Regions from separate parts of the Homo sapiens genome. Here regions 1, 2, 4, 5 and 6 are each linked to region 3. The links are contacts of gene promoters, found by promoter capture Hi-C in blood cells and fetal thymus (Javierre and others, 2016). All regions are on one chromosome and are shown on one strand. The core of a region is centred on a gene start or on the middle of the fragment in contact, and the rest is flanking DNA. Distances in the headings are between cores, read along the strand shown. Region 1 overlaps AKAP12 (A-kinase anchoring protein 12). Region 2 overlaps ZBTB2 (zinc finger and BTB domain containing 2). Region 3 holds the start of MTHFD1L (methylenetetrahydrofolate dehydrogenase (NADP+ dependent) 1 like). Region 4 overlaps AKAP12 (A-kinase anchoring protein 12). Region 5 overlaps AKAP12 (A-kinase anchoring protein 12). Region 6 overlaps AKAP12 (A-kinase anchoring protein 12).

Region 1 (3,318 bases), core at 138-2,637, 460 kb before region 3:
AAAGGAATATGTTGATTATATACTACAAAATATTAATGTTTTTATCCAAAACTTAGCTATCAGGTTTCAGTGACACCAGCACCATCATTTTTGGTTGAGAAAAAGAAGTACGATACTGCAGAAACGACATGTTCATTTTTCAGGCTGAGAATCACCAGTGCTCCCCATCCCCAGGCACATCAGGACGGCTTACAGTAACATCTGGAACTAGTTATCTTTCCCCCAAGATTCGTAGCATTGTCCTGGAATTTTTCCAGGAATTCTCTGCATTCTAAGTCCATCCCTTATAGGCTACACACCCAATCTCCCTTGTTCTAAAGCTCATTAACCAGAAAACCTCCAAGCGGAGATATATGCAAATTCATAAAAGCAAGGATCCCATACTGGAGCATATAGGTGACATCATCATTGGACCTGGTGTGTTTTTTGGGGGGTGGGGTAGGGACAGGGTCTTGCTCTGTTGCTCAGGCTGGAATTCAGTGGTGCAAGTGATTCTCCTACCTCAGCTTCCCAAGTGACTGGGACTACAGGCATGTGCCACCATGCACAGCTAAATCTTTAATTTGTTGTAGAGAGGAGGTCTCCCCTACGTTGACCATGCTGGTCTCAAACTCCTGGACTCAAGCGATCCACCTGCCTTGGCCTCCCAAAGTGCTGGGATTACAGGCATAAGCCACCGTGCCCAGTCCCAATCCCTGGTCTTGATATTGATGTTTCACGATCCCTTAAACATCTGGGCAGGCATGTAAGAATGTGGGTCACTAAACAAGTATTAGCATCTTCACAACGAGAAAGAGGTCTTTTGCAAGGTACTCTACAGTTATGCTCTTTCTAGCTGTGAAACCTTGGGTAATTATCAAATCATGAGAAACTTACTTTTATGATAGAAATGGGGTTACAGAACCACTTTTTGCAGGATTATTGTGAGGAATACATGATAATGTCCACAAAGTGCTGAACAACACCTGCCAGACTAGGCACTCAGGAAGTGGTAGTTATTAATCCAGCAGTTGTGAAAGTATCAATTTCGTGTCTCCAAAGTCTCTTGACAAGGAATCTGTCTCCATAGCAGATGTGAAACACCCATGTGCAAGGTATTTTTTTCTCTTGTAAAAATTATTTGCATCGGAAAGTGCATTATAAATAATCTAGAACTAACATGAACGTTGGAGGATTGATTCTTCCCCAGTTTCTACTTTAAAGAATAATGTCCCTGTTTCTCATGATACTTCACAGTTTGCAATGTATCAATATTATCAGTTTCAGTAATGTGGGTGTTAGAGAAAAGCGAAAAGATACTTGCTTAATTCAAAAAGCATTTTTTTGGCCGGGCGTGGTGGCTCACACCACTTTGGGAGGCTGAGGCGGGTGGATCACCTGAGGTCAGGAGTTCAAGACCAGCCTGGCCAACATGGCGAAACCTCGTCTCTACTAAAAATACAAACATTAGCGGGGCGTGGTGGCAGGTGCCTGTAATCCCAGCTGCTTGGGAGGCTGAGGCAGGGAGAACTGCTTGAACCCGGGAGGTGGAGGTTGCAGTGAGCTGAGATCGCGCCACTGCACTCCAGCCTGGGTGACAGAGTGAGACTTCATCTCAAAAAAAAAGGCATTTTTATGCTGGCACGCCATTTACAGTTGAGTGGGGAAGGGGATGATCATCGTGTCACATCACTTATTTCTTGTCTCAAAGCTAACTTATTGCAAATGAGATGTGAGAGAAAGAGACCCCAAGAATGGCAACAGTATGTAATGTGAATAAGCAATCATTTCATAATTCAATTTCCACTGCATTCATTTTAGTGGTTTGTGTAAACTGGGTTGTGTGTGTGGCAGGGGGGAGGGGGATAATAGTATTAAGTGACAGCTTTTCCTTACTTTCAGAAATGCAAACTTGTTCCTAAGTAGTTCCTACAAAATGCCATCAGTCCTGTTAATGAATTGTAAAATTTAAACACAGGCCTCCTAAAATAACATAGTACTAAAGATAACTACAATAACCTTCTATAGTATTTAAGTGAATAATCCCAAAGATGCAAAGACCTTTAAGATTTCATTAAACCTTACTGTCAATTTAATTTTTTTTTTTTTTTTTGAGACGGAGTCTTGCTCTGTCACCCAGGCTGGAGTGCAGTGGCACAATCTTGACTCACTGCAACCTCTGCCTCCCAGGTTCAAGCAATTCTCCTGCCTCAGCCTCCCGAGTAGCTGGGATCACAGGTGCACACTACCACGTCCAGCTAATTTTTGTATTTTTAGTAGAGACGGGGTTTCACCATGTTGGTCAGGCTAGTCTTGTACTCCTGACCTCGTGATCCGCCCGCCTCCGCCTCCCAAAGTGCTGGAATCACAGGCGTGAGCCGCCGCGCCCGGCCACCTTACTGTCAATTTTTTTTTTTTTTTTGAGATGGAGTCTCGCTCTGTCGCCCAGGCTGGAGTGCAGAGGCGCGATCTCGGCTCACTGCAAGCTCTGCCTCCCGAGTTCACGCCATTCTCCTGCCTCAGCCTCCCAAGTAGCTGGGACTACAGGCACCCGCCACCACACCCGGCTAATTTTTTTGTATTTTTACTAGAGACGGGGTTTCACCGTGTTAGCCAGGATGGTCTCGATCTCCTGACCTCGTGATCCGCCCACCTCGGCCTCCCAAAGTCCTGGGATTACAGGCGTGAGCCACCGCGCCCGGTTGTTACTGTCAATTTTTAAAGCTCTCATGGCTTTTCAAGATTCTGAGCAACTATTTAAAGATGATGATTATGAATCTTCCCCATCAGAATAACTTGCGGAGCAAAAACCAAATGACAGCTGAAACTCCCTTTCATTTTTACTTTTTCCACTACGTAAGATTTCTTGCTGGTAAATTTTTGGAGTTAAGATTTTCTGTGCACTTTCTTCTTACCAGGAAAAAGTGCAAAATTTTGCCATATCCTCCACACCCACATTGTAAGAAAAGTAAATTTAGAAAGCAATAGAGCCAATTACCTGATTTTGCCTTAAAAGTTAGTCCTTCCCACTATTTCCATTCATTTATCACTCCATTGGGATTATCTGAGCCAACTATTACAAGCCCCCTCAAGTGCTCCCAGTTTATTAACCTTTAATTACTGCTAAAACTTTAGACCACCTCCTTTTACCATAGGAATCTCAGTATGCGACTAATTGAATAGTGAATATAATAAAAATCATATTGTACCCAAAAAGTACTCAGAAAAAAGTCATGATCTCAGAAGCACCACCCCAGCTGTGACTCCCTACAATACACATTTGCATATTTCATTCATAGAAAAGTTAATGATCTGGGGGAAAAAATGGAGATTTTTGTG
Region 2 (3,104 bases), core at 299-2,798, 500 kb before region 3:
TATGGAAGTTTATACGAAAGGGCTTATAGCTGTAGTAAAACTATATTCATCTTTTTCCTACATGAAAGTATGTCAACCAGCCTGGCCAACATGGTGAAACCCCATCTCTACTAAAAATAGAAAAATTAGCCGGGCATCGTGGCGTGCACCTGTAATCCCAGCTACTCGGGAGACTGAGGCAGGAGAATTGCTTGAACCCGGGAGGCGGAGGTTGCAGTAAGCCGAGATCGTGTCACTGCACTCCAGCCTGGGCAACAAGAGTGAAACTCCATTTCAAAACAAAAAAAAATGTTATGTCAAACATATCTGGAAACTACTTAGATGTAAGTATATTGTAGAGAACTATGTCCTTTCCACAGGACTGGGAAAAGACCAAAGTCTGGCGCATAGTGAGCTGAGTGATTGACAGAGGTCAAGCTGCCTGGAAATAAAAGCAGTCAGGGATGGAGATGGCTGAAATGTACATTAAGGAACTTTGAAAAATTCTACCTGTTTTTTGTTTGTTTGTTTGTTTGTTTTGAGATGGAGTCTCGCTCTTGTCGCCCAGGCTGGAGTGCGATCCCAGTAGCTGGGGTTACAGCTGCGCACCACCACGCCCGGCTAATTTTTGTATTTTTAATAGAGACAGGGTTTTGCCATGTTGGCCAGGCTGGTCTTGAACACCTGACCCCAGGTGATCCACCCACCTCGGCCTCCCAAAGTGCTGGGATTATAGGCATTAGCCACTGCGCCCAGCCTCCACCTGTTTTTTAAGTGTATGTGTGCACATGTGCTTCTGCTTTAAAAAAAAAAATTTTTTTTTAAGGCTGCGTGCAGTGGTTCACGCCTGTAATCCCAATGCTGTAATCCCAAGGCTGAGGCAGGAGGATTTCTTGAGCCCAGGAGTTCAAGACCAACCTGGGCAAGATGGTGAGGCCCTGTCTCTATAAAAGTTTAAAAATTAGCTGGGTGTAGTGGCATGTGCCTATAGTCTGAGCTACTCAGGAGGCTGAGGCTGCAGTCAGCTATGATCATGCCACTGCACTCCAGCCTGGGCCTACAGAGCAAGACCCCCTCTCTCAAAAAAAATTGTTTTTAATCAAAATAAATTGGTGTTTGGAGACCTCCTTGGGCCCTCGCATCCCTGGCTGTAAACCCCAGGGACTCGCCGCTTTCTTTTCCCTGGCCCCTTGGAGTCCTCCCTCCAGGCCTGCCTAAAGTGTGGGCCAAGGTGTCCCCAGCTGTGTCCCTTTTTTGCCATCTGAGACTGTACATAGTTCTTTCAAATTTGAGAGGCTTACCGTTGAGTCACCATTCATAAGTGATAGATAAGACAGCCTATCCAACAATGAATGAGAAAAGAATTACAAAATTTACACCAAAGTCAGCCAGGCGCGGTGGTTCATGCCTGTAATCCTAGCACTTTGGGAGGCCGAGATGGGCAGATCACTTGAGGTCAGGAGTTCAAGACCAGCCTGGCCAACACAGTGAAATCCTGTCTCTACTAAAAAAAATACAAAAATTAGCTGGGCCTGGTGGCGGGCACCTGTAATCCCAACTTGGGAGGCGAAGCAGAAGAATCACTTGAACCTGGGAGGCGGAGATTGCAGTGAGCCAAAATCATGCCACTGCACTCCAGCCTGGGCAGCAGAGCAAGACTTCGTCTCAAAATTAAAAAAAAAAAGAAAGAAAAATGACCAGGCGCAGTAGCTCACGCCTGTAATCCCATCACTTTGGGAGGCCGAGGTGGGCAGATCACCTGAGGTCAGGAGTTCGAGACCAGCCTGGCCAACATGGCAAAACCCCATCCCTACTAAATACACAAAAACTAGCCGGGACTGGTGGCACACGCCTGTAATCCCAGCTACTCGGGAGGCTGAGGAAGGAGAATCACTTGGACGAGGGGATGGAGGGTGCAGTGAGCTGAGATTGTGCCACTGCACTCCAGCCTGGTGACAGAGTGAGACTCTGTCTCAAAACAAAACAAAAAACAACAAAGTTGCCAGGCGCGGTGGCTCACACCTGTAATCCCAGCACTTTGGGAGGCCGAGGCGGGCAGATCACGAGTTCAGCAGATCAAGACCATCCTGGCTAACATGGTGAAACCCCGTCTCTACTAAAAATACAAAAAGAAATTAGCCGGGTGTGGTGGCGGACACCTGTAGTCCCAGCTACTCTGGAGGCTGAGGCAGGAGAATGGTGTGAACCCGGGAGGCGGAGCTTGCAGTGAGCCGAGATCGCACCACTGCAGTCCAGCCTGGGTGACAGAGCAAGACTCCGTCTCAAAAAAAGAAAAGAAAAGAAAATATTTGTTAATCAAATGAACATGATTGCTAAAAGGGCCAAAGAAGATTACAATACAAAAAGTATAATAAAAGAAAATTATAAATTCTAAAAGCATTCAAGGAAGCTGTCTTTGAATTTGAAATGCATTGTCTATAGAATATCCACTCAGTGGAATATAATATATACCTTGTGATATGTGGATATAGATCTCACTAATTTCTAATGATGCTTTAGAATTTGTTACTACCGATGGTCTGGGAAGAGTTCTTGGGAACCTCTTCATTATTACTGCTTGATCAGGAATGATGTTTCTGAAATGATAAAAGGAGTAGAATCTAAAGTTATAAAATTAATAGCATCTTCAACGGCTTTAGGTGCCTTAGATAAATCACTTAACTTTTTGGGACCTCAGTTTCCATATCTGTCAAATCGGACTAAATAAATCCACTTTATCTACCATACAGGATTGTTTTGATTCTCTAAAGGATCTTGCTGTGGTGGCTTTGGACTTAGACAAACATTGTTTCAAATACCAGCTCCACCTCTTACCAACTACATGATATTGAGCAGGTTATTAACCCTCTAATCCTCAATCCTTTCCTGTAAAATGAGAATGAATGACAATCAAGTGAGAAGGCATCCCTGTAAAGCCCAGGAGCAGTGCTGATGTTGATGGTGGCATTTGATAAGGAACTCCTGGAGTTCTGTATAAAAATAGAATACATAATATTTAATTTAACTTGGCCAGGCGTGGTGGCTCACGCCTATAATCCCAGCACTTTGGGAGGCCAAGGAGGGCTGATCACTTGAGGTCAGGAATTGGAGACCACCCTGGCCAA
Region 3 (3,359 bases), core at 584-3,083:
TGGCTTCAGACTCTAACCGGTAAGATGAGTCTCAGCAACGTGCAGGTTAAAACCTAATGACCTGACGTGTAATTAATCCCAGCGCTTTTGGGGGCAGGGATGATGGCTTGCGCCCAGGAGTTCCAGACCAGCCTGGTAACAGAGTGGTGCTCTGTCTCTATGAAAATAAAATAAAATAATCCGGGCATGGTAGCGCACACCTGTGGTCCCAGTTACACTGGAGGCTAAGGCGGGAGAATCGCTTGAGCCCAGGAGGCGGAGGCTGCATTGAGCCGAGATGGCACCACTGAACTCCAGCCTGAGCAACAAAGCGAGACTCCATTTCTAAAAGAAAAAGAAGACAGAGAACAAGAAAAACTAAATAAATGGCCCCTTAAAATCATCCGCCACATAATAAAGAGCCTAGGAAACGTATTTTACTGAGATGGGAGAAGGGGAGTGGGGAGGAAAATGGGAGAGCAGAGGGAGGAAGGAAAGGCAGAGAGAAAGGCAAGCAGGCAATGACTAAGAAAGAAGGCTAGAAGGAAAGGGAAGAGGATGTGAATGGAGGAGGTGGTCCGCTGGCCGGGGAAACCGCATCCTGGAACTCGTTCCTAATCCCAGTTCCGAGGGAGGCGGAAGGGGCTTTCTTGCCACCCCCAAGTTGTCCCGAAGGGCTCGCCCTGCAAGGCCCGAGACCCGTGCGCCCCTCTGGGCGAGGGCGGGGAAGGCTGGAGCCCAGGGGCGGGGACCGGGACGGGAAAGGCCGGGCCCGGGGCTCCCAGTTCGCTCTGGGCCCGCAGAAAACCCTGCAAACCCAGCTGCGCGGGGACTCCGTGGGCGCTGCGCGGCGAAGCTGGAAACCAGCGCTGAGACCTCTCGGATTCCCCCCGGCGGCTGTCCCGGGGGCCCGGCTCCACCTTTGCCGTTCCGGGAAAAGCGGACGTCAGCCACAGACCCCAGCCCAGCAGGAGGGGCCGCGCGCGGGGAAGGGCGCACAACACCAGGGAGCTTCGCGCGGGCGGCGCTGGGCCCGAGCCCGCCTCTCCCGAGCTCCGCTTGCCCTTCCCGAACCCCGGGCCAGCCGGCGCGCCGAGCCGCAGCCCCGCCCTCCTCCTGCTCCTCGCCCCCTCCCCTGGTTTCCGCCCCAGCCGCACCGCCCCTTTACCGTCTGGGTCGCGCCCGGCGCGATTGCATCAGAGCCGGCGGCCGGCTGCGCACGTGGAGCCGGGCGTGCGGTCCATGCCGCTAGGCGCCCATTGGAGATGCCCACGCCCACCTGCGCTGCGGGCCCGGTCGGGTACTGGATCCCCCGTTCTCCGCCAGCGCTCCCGGCCGCAGTGCCCAAGCCCGCGTTTCCCGACACACCGCCCGGCCCCCCTAATGAGTTGGCACCAAACACTCGCAGCCCCGCGCCCCGCTCCCCACGGCGGTCCCGGGCGCTCCGCCCCTGGGTCGGGGCCACAGCCGCTGGAGACCTGGGCCAGGGCCAGACCCGACACTCACCTGACGATGGAGTCCCGCGCCGCGGGCGTTCGGCCGCCGGGGCTGCAGCTGCTCCGGGCCTGGCCATCCTGCGGCCGCCGCTGTCCAAGCAGGCCCTCCCGGCCACCGCCGCCGCCTCCGCCGCCGCCGCTGCTAGCGCGACAGGGCACACGGAGGCGGCGCGGAGGGCCCGGGGGCTGGGGCGGGCGGCGGAGCTGGCGCAGGACGAGCGGCAGACGCGTGCCCATGGCGCGGGACGGCTGGTTCTCAGGGGACACGGAGCTGCGGCTGCCGAGGGCGGCGGGGCGCGTGCCAGGGGAGCAGGCGGCGGCGGCGGCGGCGGCGGCGGGAAGGACCTGGCGCTTCCTCCTCGTCCCAGGGGCCCCTAGGGGGCACTGCACCCGGCGGCCGTGACGTGCGGAGGGCGGGGGCCTGCGAGCCGCCGGCCGGGATGTCACGGCTTTGGGCACTTTGGTTTGGTAAGCTGTACCAGACAGAGGGTGGGGTGCGGAGTGGGACTCAGACTCTGCCCTGAGACTCAGCCTCCCTCCCTTCAGCCTGAAAGGCCGAGGTGACCCTTGGTACTCAGGGCGCCAAGTTTAGACGGGAGGGCTTGGATTTGCTGTACTGGAGGTGGCCTGAGGATAAGAGGCTTTGTAACCTTAGGCAGGGGCACTTAATCTCGGTGAGCTTGCGGGGTCTTCGTCAGTACCACAGAGATAACAATGCTCTTCTTAAAACCTTAAAAGGATTTTATAGTCCTGATTGGTTCCAGGGCCCCTCCAGGGGACCCACGTCCACAAATGCTCAAGTCCTTGGTAAAAAAAAAAAAAAAAAAAAGTGTTTGCATATCACCTACACACATCTTCCCATCATAAACTTTAGGTCATCTCCACATTCCCTAAGTCCTCACCTAACATCGTGGAGGGGTTCTTGGAAACTGAAACTTTAAGCCAAATGACTGTAAGGAAAACAGTTTGACCACAGGCTAATTGATATGAGTGAAGTTCCTACAACATATCTGTGGTCACAAAATCGCCCCTAAACTTCGAAATAAAGACCAAAACACTTCTAATATTAAACATTGAAATAAGTGTGAGCCATGCATATATTTAAGGAAGATTTTTAGCTCACGCCTATAATCCCAACACTTTGGGAGGCTGAGGTGGGCAGATCACGTGAGGCCAGAAGTTCAAGACCAGCTTGGCCAACATGGCGAAACCCCATCTCTACTAAAAATACAGAAAATTGGCTGGGTGTGGTGGCGCGTGCCTGTATTCTCAGCTACTCGGGAGGCTGAGGCAGGAGAATCGCTTGAACCCAGGAGCCAGAGGTTGCAGTGAGCCGAGATCATGTCACTGTACTCTAGCCTGGGCGACAGAGCACAGCTCTGTCTCAAAGAAAAAGTTTTTTTTAAACACCCCCTATCCCTCTCGCTTAGAGAAAAATAAAGATTAATAAAAGTGAGATCATTTTTACCGGCTTATTCCAACTCAGGGCACCTCACAGGGTGTGCTCACACACACCCACACTCACACTCGGATCGTGTAGATGCACCAATTTACCTAAAGTGCACTGCACGGCTTTGGGATGTGACAGGACACCAGAAGACAGAGAAAATCCACACAGACATGGATAAAACGTGACAGTGGACCCAGCCAGAAATCTATTTTTTTCTCATCATTATAAGAAAACCACTGAGCAAAATGATGAAATGATGTTATTCCAGGACCTGCTGTACTTATAATACCTAATACAATGTAAATGCTATGTAAATAGATATTACACTGTACTTTTTTATTTCTATGATTTTTTATTATTTTTTGTTATTGTAATTTTTTCAAATACTTTCAGTCCCAGGTTGATTGAGGATACAGAGGGCTGACCATAAGTTC
Region 4 (3,080 bases), core at 232-2,731, 480 kb before region 3:
CCAAGAAGGAGACCTTTCTTCAATAATGGTAGCTGCCCTCGTCCCGTCAGCGACAGCTGCTGCCATCATATGAACCTGACTCTCGCTGAGCTCCTTGGACACCTCAGTGGCTGCCTTCTGCTCGGGCTGCTCTGCGCTTTTTTGGGCTTGCTGTGCCTCCATTTTCTCCCTTTCTACAGCATCATACTCAGACAGAGGGACCACGGCCGGGACATCAGAGTCATCTTCGTTGGCCCCTGTTGGCCCTGCGTCTTCAACAGGGGCTTGTTCTTGTTTCCCATCTGGCCTTTTCTTCCTTCGTCCAGGAATAAACTTCTTGATTGAGACCCAGGATTCTTCTTTACCGGGTTCAGTGTCTGGAGTGGAATGTTCTACACCAGACCCAGCTATGGAGTCTTCGCTTTTCTCTTCCAGCTTGGACTTTGATTTTTTTCTTGGCGTGACTAACCTTTTAAATGACTCCCAGGTGGAAACGCCCTCCCCTTCGGTAGGGCTTCCAGCTTGCTCCGGGGAGGAACTTCCCTGCCCTGGATCATGTTCTTGGGAACCAGCAAGGATCCCGTCTGTCCCCGTCTCTTTGTCTTTTCCGGCCTCATCAGCTTTCTGGTGGTCTCCTCCCATTGCTTTTGGTCCCCCTTCCTCATCAGAAGAGGACCCTCTCCTTGCTCTTTTCTTGGATGATCCCACACAAATTAAAGCTTCCCAAGATACTGAGGTATCCACCTTGCGCTTTGGTTCTTCCGGCTTTGGCTCTTCCACGCTCCCTTTCATTTCTTCTTGCATTTCAGAGGCTGTGCTCTCGGTGGAAGACAAGGTAGCGCTCTTGACCTTGTCCAGCTCATCTTCTTTATCACTTTCCGAAGGCCGTCTAACACGCTTCTTGGGCGTCACCATCTTTTTGAATGATGCCCAGGGAGTGACACCTTCTCTTTTTTTCTCTCCATCGGAAGTAGCTCCTTCTTCAGCTTCCCCATCCTGCTGCACCTCGGCTAAGCCCTTTTCCAGACACGTGATCTCCTCGGGCTCCTCAGGGGATGAGGCAGAGCTCTCGCCCTTTTGCTCCTCCTGGCTGTCCGGAGAATCGGCTGGAACCTGAGTGTGCTCCCCTGATTCCTCGTCTCCTCCTCCTCTTTTCCCTTTCTGTTTCTTTCCAGAAAGCTTTTTTAAGCCAGTGCTGGTAAAAAGCTTCTTTAGTGGACTTCCCTGCACCTTCATTCTCTCCTGTGATGACAGCATTTCCACCTCACTCACAACGCCTTCGGGGGGTTTGGACAGCACCTTCTCATCAGGACTGAGGTCAGCTCCCTGTGTAGGGTCCTCTCCGGAAACACACGTTTCTTTGAGCTTCACCAGCTCCTTGGCAGGTTCAGCTTCCTGAGGTTCTGCATCCATTTCAACCAATTCTTCAGCTGGCACAGACCCTGCTGTTTCTTCCACCTCCGTTTTCTGCTCTTCGGTTCTCTCCTCCACGGTGCTGACGTGGACTTCGGCCACAACCTCTTCTTGGTGGACTTCTATTTTCTCATCAAACACTTCTGTCGCCAACGGAGCAGGTTTCTCTTCAGAAGGTCCCTGCGAGCCACTGACTTGCTCCTCTGAGGGCAGCTCAACTTTCTCATATTCAGCTGATAACCGGGGCTCGTGGGCACTTTCTGCCGGCTCCTGTGGGTGGGCTTGCTCGGAGGCGGTCAGTTTCTCGGAGGCAACCTCTGCCTTTCCGTCTTCTTCTGTGTCTACTTTTTCTGGCTCTTGTTCCTTTTTCTTCTCTGAAGCTTCCACTTCATCCTCCTTCGGCTTCCTGAAACTGGTCTTTTTGCGCCAGCCGGCCCAACCTTGAGTGAAGAATTTTTTGAAGGTTGATCCTGTTTCACTGGTCACGGGACTAGTCGGAGATTCTGCAGACTTGCTAGGTTCTTTTTCTTGTTTCTCTTCTCCTTCCTCTTTGCATTCCTCCACTGCTTGGCCAGATTCGGCTGGGGGAGAAATTTCTGCGTGGCTTTGCTCACGCTTCAGGGTCTCTTCGGGTTTCTCTGTAGATTGTTTGGGTTCGCTTTCTTTGGATGCTGCTTCTCCAGCCCCAAGGCTGGGGTCCTTGTGGTCGCCAGCCCCTGCTGCTCCCTCCCCTTCATCTTTCTTCACAGTGAGTAGCTGGACAGTGTCAGGCTTCTCTGTCTTATCCTTTTTCACAGTGAATTTAAAGCCAACAAACTTAAACACCTTCTTAAATCCAATATCATTAGCCTGGGACTCAGTGGGTTGTGTTAGCTCTTCTAAATTGCTTTCTGAAGAAGGAATCTGTTCGATTATTTCGGGTGTCTCCTCCTGCCCATCATCTGTGATGTCGTGAACAACCGCTGACTTAGTAGCCATCTCTTTATCGGAGTCTCTTTTGCTCACATCTTCAGAGTCTCTCTGTCCAACTATTAACAAAAAGGGGCGGGGGGGTGGGGAGAAGAGAAAAGGTGATTACAATACAAGAAAATTGTTTTTCTCCGACAGGGCCTCACTCTCTTGCCCCGGCTGGAGGGCAGTGGTGTGGTCTCGGCTCACTGCAGCCTCAACCTCCCAGGCTCAAGGAATCCTCCCACCTCAGCATCCCGAGTAGCTGGGACTACAGGCACATGCCACCATGTCCAGCTAAGTTTTTTATTTTCTGTAGAGATGAGATCTCACTATGTTGTCCAGGCTGCTCTCCAACTGCTGGGCTCAAGTGACCCTCCTGTCTCAGCTTCTCAAAGCAGTGGGATTACAAGTGTGAGCTATAGTGCCTAGCCCAAGAAAATTAACTTTTTTTTTTTTTTTTTTTGAGACAGAGTCTCACTCTGTCGCCCAGGCTGGAGCACAGTGGCACGATCTCGGTTCACTGCAACCTCTGTCCTAGGTTCAAGTGATTCTCCCACCTCAGCCTCCTGATTAGCTGGGATTACAGGCGTCTGTCACCATGCCCAGCTAATTTGTTTTTTTTGTTTGTTTTTTTTGAGATGGAGTCTCACTCTGTCACCCAGGCTGGAGTGCAGAGGCACGATCGTGGCTCACTGCAAGCTCCGCCTCCTGGGTTCACGCCATTCTCCTGTCTCAGC
Region 5 (3,196 bases), core at 182-2,681, 420 kb before region 3:
TTTCTGGTTATTGTTCTTTAAAAAAATCCTTTTTTCATCTTTTCCACAAACTCTCCATTAAGAATTATAAGCTCTTTGGTAATCAGTAGATTGAAATAGATACACACACACACACACACACACACACACACACACAGTGAAATGCAGCTCTCTGATGTGTACTTCCTGGCAAGGAAAAAATAGTTCAATAGCAAACTCAGTAATGTGAATCACTGCCAAGACAGGAAAACATTATTTGGTATCCACTCCTATGACAATGGGAAAAATAGTTCTGAGAGTGAAAAGTTTTTATACCAATTAGGTTATGTCCTCTAAAACTGTTTCCAGTTATTGCTTCTGGGGACAGAGGGGACAATATATTTGCTTTGATATGTAAGTTTTCACAATGGAGCATTAGTCTTACTTGGTCTCAATACACTCCCCACTCTGTCGTTCATAAATCATGTTCTTCACATTAACTATTCCTAAAATAAAGTGCCTGAATCTTGCAGTCCAGACCCACCACATGCTCATACTGCATCTTGCATTTCATTCTCTTTGTTGACCTCCAAGTTCACTCTCCAAAGCCTCTGAATGTTCATCATTTTGCAAAAGCTTTGGTTCCACCCTGGGTCCCCATGCGTTAGTCAACATTTGATTAATCCCTGTGATGGGTTCCTATGTCATCTGGATGCGTCAAGTCAAAAGGAAGTGCCACACATCAAAGACAGAGTACTAAGACACATAGTACTAACAGGGAGGGGTCTCTTTCAGTTCTGTTGATAAGAGAAAGTGTACCAGAAAAAGTTGAGTTTTGAGCTGGATCTGAATAGGCAAAAAGTACCAATGGCAGGGAAGAGAGAAATAAGACATCGACATGTGTTCATTCTTTGTTTTTGGTTTCGGTTTTGTTTGAGACAGGGTCTTGCTCTGTTGCCCAGACTGGAGTGCAGTAGCTCAGTTATGGCTCACTGCAGCTCTGACCTCTCAGGCTCAAGCAATACTCCAGCCTCAGCCCCCCAAGTAGCTGGGACTACAGGCGCACACTGCCACACCCAGCTAATTTTTTTGTATTTTTTGTAGAGACAGGGTTTCGCCATGTTGCCCAGGCTGGTCTCAAACTCCTGGGCTCAAGCGATCCTTCCACCTCGGCTTCCCAAAGTGCCGGGATTACAGGTGTTAGCCACCACACCCAGCCATGCATTCTTATTTATCTCATGTCAGGCAATGGCAAAGAGTGCAATGTGGAAGTGATGCCAGGAGTTCTGGTAACGACATGACTCAACGTGCAGGTTTCAAAGATCACTGCATACCTGGTGAACGATGTGTGACACTGATCTGTGCAGACAGAAGTCAGAATGTAATGGAGCAATAACCAGGAGGAGATGCAAGGGAGGCTTCTGGGGCACTGGCGAGGTTCTCCAACCTGACCTGGGAGAGGGTTACTCGTGCGTTCACCTTGTAAGAACTCACCAAGCTATACGCTTAAGACTTGCTCGCTTTATCAGATATAAATTGACCACAGACAAACCCTAAAAACCCCCAAACCAGCAATCTGCCTGCAGAGAGGAGCTGAAGGAGAGCAAGCTGGAGGCAGGAAGGCTGCTGCTGTGTCCATTCAGGGGAGAAATGAAGCCAGGGAAGGCCCTGTGGACAGAATGGGTCGATGTGAAATGTCTTTGGAGATGAGGCCTGCGGGACTTGCCAACGGAAAAAGAATGACTCCCGGATTTGAGGTTTGGTTATGTCAGTGACAGCTTCTGAGCTCTCAGAAAAACACCTGACATTGCTTTTAACAGTGGGCTTTCTGTCTTTATACTGAATTCTGTCTCTGTCTCTCCCTCTCTTAGGCATTCTCTGATCAGAATGCCTCGCCTTGAGAAGAGGCCCTACCTGTAAGGTTCCTTCACCTCTAGGTGCCTGCTTCCTCATTGGTACAATGGGGATTTATAAGTGTCTATCACAAGTGTACCAAGCGCGTAGGACAGACAGCACCTGACACAGTAAGCACTAGTCAGTGTCAGCCATTAGTATTACAGAAAACAAATCACTGCTTTTGTTACCCTGTCCCTCTATTTTCTGGGTCAACAGTGAGACCATGTCTTTACTTGATAATACTCTTTTTCAGGCAAAGAATTAGCATCCTCGTTGGAAAAGCCTAGAAACCTGGAGACCATCTTGGGCTTTTCTGCATCTTGGTCATCCTCATGCTCCCTCAAATCCTACCATTTCTTTTGTGTTCAATGCTGTCTGTACCCATTGCTTGATTTCTGCCCTAGTTCAAGCTTTAGCATTTCATGGTTGATTTAATGCAATATCCTAAGAGCTGATCTCCCTGCCTTTGAGTGCCTCTTGTTTAGTTCTACCTTAACGCTCAATCTGTCATGCTGGTCTCCTTTAGTTCCTAAAGTGTGCCTCCTCACCGTCATTAAATGGAGCCCAGCCTCCTTATACAAGGGCCTCCACTTTTCTAAAATCTCCTGCTACCCACTTTCATAAAGGCTCAGTCCTGGGCCGAGAAGTAAGAAAGAAATCCTGAATACTCTTCAACAGTCATCTAAATTTTTTCATAACATGAGTGCAGGCTATACTGTGGGAAATTAGCAAGAGCTTAGCCAAGATAAAAACTAAACTCCATGAAGATGAAGATAGCAACTTTCTTACAAATCTAGCACTTTATACATAATACACTTTATATAGTTAATGATTTCAAGTTTGACCAGCCTGAACATTGACAGTAATCAGGAATGAATAACCTGATAGGTAGACAGCAGGGAAAACATTATTCAACCAATAGACAAGAGAAGTCGGGGAATCAGCAGCTGCTTCAAAGAATCCCTGTGAGCAGTAACACCATCAGACCCAGGCAGAGCCCCTCACTGCGGAGAGCCCCATTCTGGCCCTCCTCTGGCTACATCCTTCCCCCGCAGCAACCAAAAGGGCAAACCTTCCTGAAATTAACATCCACCTGTCCTGGGGGCCCAAGATTTGGAATTCTCAGAACCTATGCAAGCCTCTTCCCTGGGCACCTCTAGACCAAAGGGCTACAGCACATTTGTTTTGGTGAAGGTTGGGCATGTGGGCTGGAAAACCCCCATGCGTGAGCTGGAGGTCCCTTAAGATGTATGGGCAGGCTGGGCACGGTGGCTCACACCTGTAATCCCAGCACTTTGGGAGGCCGAGGTGGGTGGATCACCTGAGGTCAGGAAATCAAGAC
Region 6 (2,984 bases), core at 166-2,665, 440 kb before region 3:
AAAGAGATGTTACACCAGGCGCAGTGGCTCATGCCTTTAATCCCAGCACTTTGGGAGGCCGAGGCAGGCAGATCATGAGGGCAGGAGATCGAGACCATCCTGGCTAACATGGTGAAACCCCGTCTCTACTAAAAATGCAAAAAATTAGCCAAGTGTGGTGGTGTGCGCCTATAATCCCAGCTACTAGGGAAGCTGAGGCAGGAGAATCACTTGAACCTGGGAGGCGGAGGTTGCAGCGAGCTGAGATCACGCACTCCAGCCTGGGCAACAGAGGGAGACTCCGTCTCTTAAAAAAAAAAAAAGAAAAAAAAAAGAGATGTTACACACACATAGCAAAGTACATTAGATGATAAAAAGAAGGACCCTTAAAAACTGAGGTCAAATGCTACACATCCTTACATCCTAAGTATGATAATGAATACATTATGAGATACTAATTTTCAGTAACCACAGGGTAACTGTCCCTACTTGAGAAAGGCCGTAGATACATTATTAACTTCGGTAGAAAACGATTTATGACAGTGACGTTACTGAACCTGAGTTTTGAGTCTATTTTACTATGTGAATAGCTTGCGTCCCGCCAGGGTACCCAAGCTTTGACCTCAAGGGTGATGTCTCAGGTGAGCTTTCAGAGCCTATGAGGCACCAACATCCGCACAAAATGGGACTTCATTCCTAGTCAGATTGTCACATTCAGACATGTCCACACTTTTGCAAATCCCACGTGTTGTTAAAGATGGATAATTCCCTTTATTTCACTCCAAATCAAAAGTGTTTTTGTTTTTTCTTCCATCCCCAAACCGTCTAAATAAGTCATACCGTTGTTAAAAATTCACGGACTTCTGAGAGTTATCAATAAGTTAAAGTCACCTCAAATAGAGGAAATCAAACCTACATTCATTTAAGTCTTTTCTGTGTTTTCTACGTGTGTATATATACAGGCACAAGCATTCACTTAAAAAATAATGGGGAACACGTGTTATTTTATGACCTGATGGTTTCATACATTGTGGGTACATTTCTTTATTAATAAACACGCACCTTGCTTAACTTCAATCAGTCTCTCCTGTCTGCAACTCAAATGGCCACAGAAGACAGGATTTACACACAGCTCTGCCCAGAGAGACCCTGAAAGATGCAGACACAACATAGTGGCACATGGGACAGGAGGCGGTGGAACCAGATGGGATTCATTGGAGCCAGATGGGATTCGAGGACCACCCATTTCAGGGAGGAAAGTAATACTGGGACTTAACTGTTACCAAACAAGAAAGAAGGAGGAAATGTATATTTCACTTTTTCCACTCCGAAGCTTCCTCGCATAGCTTTATCCCTCCACCCTGAACTTAGTTTTATAAATAGTTATTTCTTTTGAGATGAGAACTAGACTTGAAAGACACGCTCCTTACACTTAAACATGGTAAGCACCAGAAAACCTATTTTCCCACTGGATTTGTGCTTCAAAAAGCACAAATGCCTCCTTTGAACAAATCAAAACCCTAAATGTTTTCAAGCTTATATCCTTTGAGTGGGTCAGCCAGAGTTTATTCCCATGAAGTATTACCACATTACAACTAAACAAGCTGTTAAAAAAAAAAAAGACCCTAAAAACCTCAAATGTTTCCAGCAACAGTGTTTTCCTCTCATTTCTGTAAGAACAACAACCAAGAATGTCCAAGTGGTAGCCAAGGCACCACAGAAAAACTAGGAGACTTCTCCATCCACTTCCTTCTCCACAGGAGTCCACAACGTGCTAGGGACCTCCTTTGCAGAGTAAGAAACAGGAGTACCAGGCTGTTTAATGAAGTTGTGAAATGATGAGCCCTTGACAGCTGTCAGGATGCCAGGGGCAGAGGAGGTAAGCCAACCAAAGCAACCCTTTTCACTGCAGAAGTGATACTCCCAGATCTACATCCTCATTGGACGACCGGGTGCAAGTGGCCCAGCACTCCTGCAGTTCACACAGTAGACGAGGCTCCAAAGGGGCAATTCGTCCCACCCCGGGCAGTATGACCAAGAAGCAAACCTGTAAGTGGCCTTCGTGGGAAGGAACCAGAAGCCAATATAACCAGGACACACCCACAAATGATCAAATCATCAGACTTAAAGATTATCTGGAAGGAATTTTAAATCCCACGACAAAACTTGTAAAGAAACCTCTTCATTGTGTTTTCTCCTTCATTCTAATAGAAAGTGTTTTGAAAGTAAATCTTTAAAAATGTCAAACAAAAAAAATAAAAACCAGAGTACAAATCAGTAAACAATATCCCTGGAAGGCAATTTGGAAATAGGGATAGAATTTTAAATACGCAAACCCATTAGCTACACCATGCCATTCTAATAGATATGGCATTACATATTTATGAGGTGCAACACATAATAACTTATAATAGGGTTGGGCGTGGTGCCTCATGCCTATAATTCCAGCACTTTGGGAGGCTGAGGCAGGAGGATGGCTTTAAGCCAGGAGTTTGAGACCAGCCTGGGCAACAAACTGAAACCCAGTCTCTACAAAGGAAAAATAAATAAGTAATAAATACTTCATAATAGCAAAAAAAAAAAAAACCCTTAAATGTCTATCAGTAGAGGGGAGTAGTTAAATTATGAAATGTTCATGCAATAGACAACATCAAAAGCTATGAGGTAGATTTAGACACACTCATGTGTGAAGATGTCCCTGGCTTAAGGGGGAAAAGAAGCAAGTTGCTGAGAATGATTCTTTTATGTGTTTAAAACCAAACTAAACAAAAATAACCCACTGACAAAGAGGGAGAGGAAGAGGAAAAGGGAGAGAGAAAAGGAGTCAATGTTTGTGTAAGCATTTTTTTTAAAGTCTGGAACAATATGTACCAAATCTTTAATAATGGTTACCTCTATGGCATTGTTGTTGTTTGGTTTTATCCTCTTAGAGGGAAATTGGGAGAACAGACACGGTTTCCTTTTTACTCACTTTATCACTGTAGAAGTGAAAATACATTGAACCC

Evidence for each region. The method cuts DNA at HindIII sites, captures the fragments that hold promoters and counts their contacts. A CHiCAGO score of 5 or more calls a contact.
Region 1: a fragment that was not itself captured here is called in contact with the fragment with the promoter of MTHFD1L in region 3 in 5 of 17 cell types (monocytes, M2 macrophages, megakaryocytes and 2 more); the score reaches 8.5 in monocytes.
Region 2: a contact is called between a fragment that was not itself captured here and the fragment with the promoter of MTHFD1L in region 3, in 2 of 17 cell types (M0 macrophages and M2 macrophages). The highest score is 7.3, in M0 macrophages.
Region 4: a contact is called between a fragment that was not itself captured here and the fragment with the promoter of MTHFD1L in region 3, in 2 of 17 cell types (M2 macrophages and M0 macrophages). The highest score is 7.6, in M2 macrophages.
Region 5: a contact is called between a fragment that was not itself captured here and the fragment with the promoter of MTHFD1L in region 3, in 2 of 17 cell types (neutrophils and M1 macrophages). The highest score is 6.0, in neutrophils.
Region 6: a fragment that was not itself captured here is called in contact with the fragment with the promoter of MTHFD1L in region 3 in 1 of 17 cell types (M1 macrophages); the score reaches 5.8 in M1 macrophages.

The regions. Positions count from the first base shown.
Region 1 is chr6:151,327,411-151,330,728 of GRCh38, reverse strand. The region is part of intron 3 of AKAP12 (A-kinase anchoring protein 12); the gene reads right to left. Among named protein-coding and RNA genes, the nearest start is that of ZBTB2, 62 kb to the left of the region's middle. The HindIII fragment of the contact is 6,146 bases long and covers 1-3,318 here.
Region 2 is chr6:151,367,324-151,370,427 of GRCh38, reverse strand. The region is part of intron 2 of ZBTB2 (zinc finger and BTB domain containing 2); the gene reads left to right. Among named protein-coding and RNA genes, the nearest start is that of ZBTB2, 23 kb to the left of the region's middle. The HindIII fragment of the contact is 6,019 bases long and covers 1-3,104 here.
Region 3 is chr6:150,864,176-150,867,534 of GRCh38, reverse strand. MTHFD1L (methylenetetrahydrofolate dehydrogenase (NADP+ dependent) 1 like) reads right to left here and starts at 1,833. Exons shown (of 28, transcript NM_015440.5): 1 at 1,486-1,833. The coding sequence starts at 1,712. RefSeq lists silencers at 662-811, 932-1,131, 1,292-1,701, 1,762-1,991. The HindIII fragment of the contact is 12,675 bases long and covers 1-3,359 here.
Region 4 is chr6:151,348,051-151,351,130 of GRCh38, reverse strand. It overlaps AKAP12 (A-kinase anchoring protein 12), which reads right to left. Exons shown (of 5, transcript NM_005100.4): 4 at 1-2,420. Among named protein-coding and RNA genes, the nearest start is that of ZBTB2, 42 kb to the left of the region's middle. The HindIII fragment of the contact is 587 bases long and covers 1,188-1,774 here.
Region 5 is chr6:151,282,325-151,285,520 of GRCh38, reverse strand. The region is part of intron 2 of AKAP12 (A-kinase anchoring protein 12); the gene reads right to left. Among named protein-coding and RNA genes, the nearest start is that of AKAP12, 44 kb to the right of the region's middle. RefSeq lists enhancers at 1,310-1,359, 1,370-1,419. The HindIII fragment of the contact is 1,670 bases long and covers 597-2,266 here.
Region 6 is chr6:151,299,338-151,302,321 of GRCh38, reverse strand. All of the region lies in intron 2 of AKAP12 (A-kinase anchoring protein 12), which reads right to left. Among named protein-coding and RNA genes, the nearest start is that of AKAP12, 61 kb to the right of the region's middle. The HindIII fragment of the contact is 202 bases long and covers 1,315-1,516 here.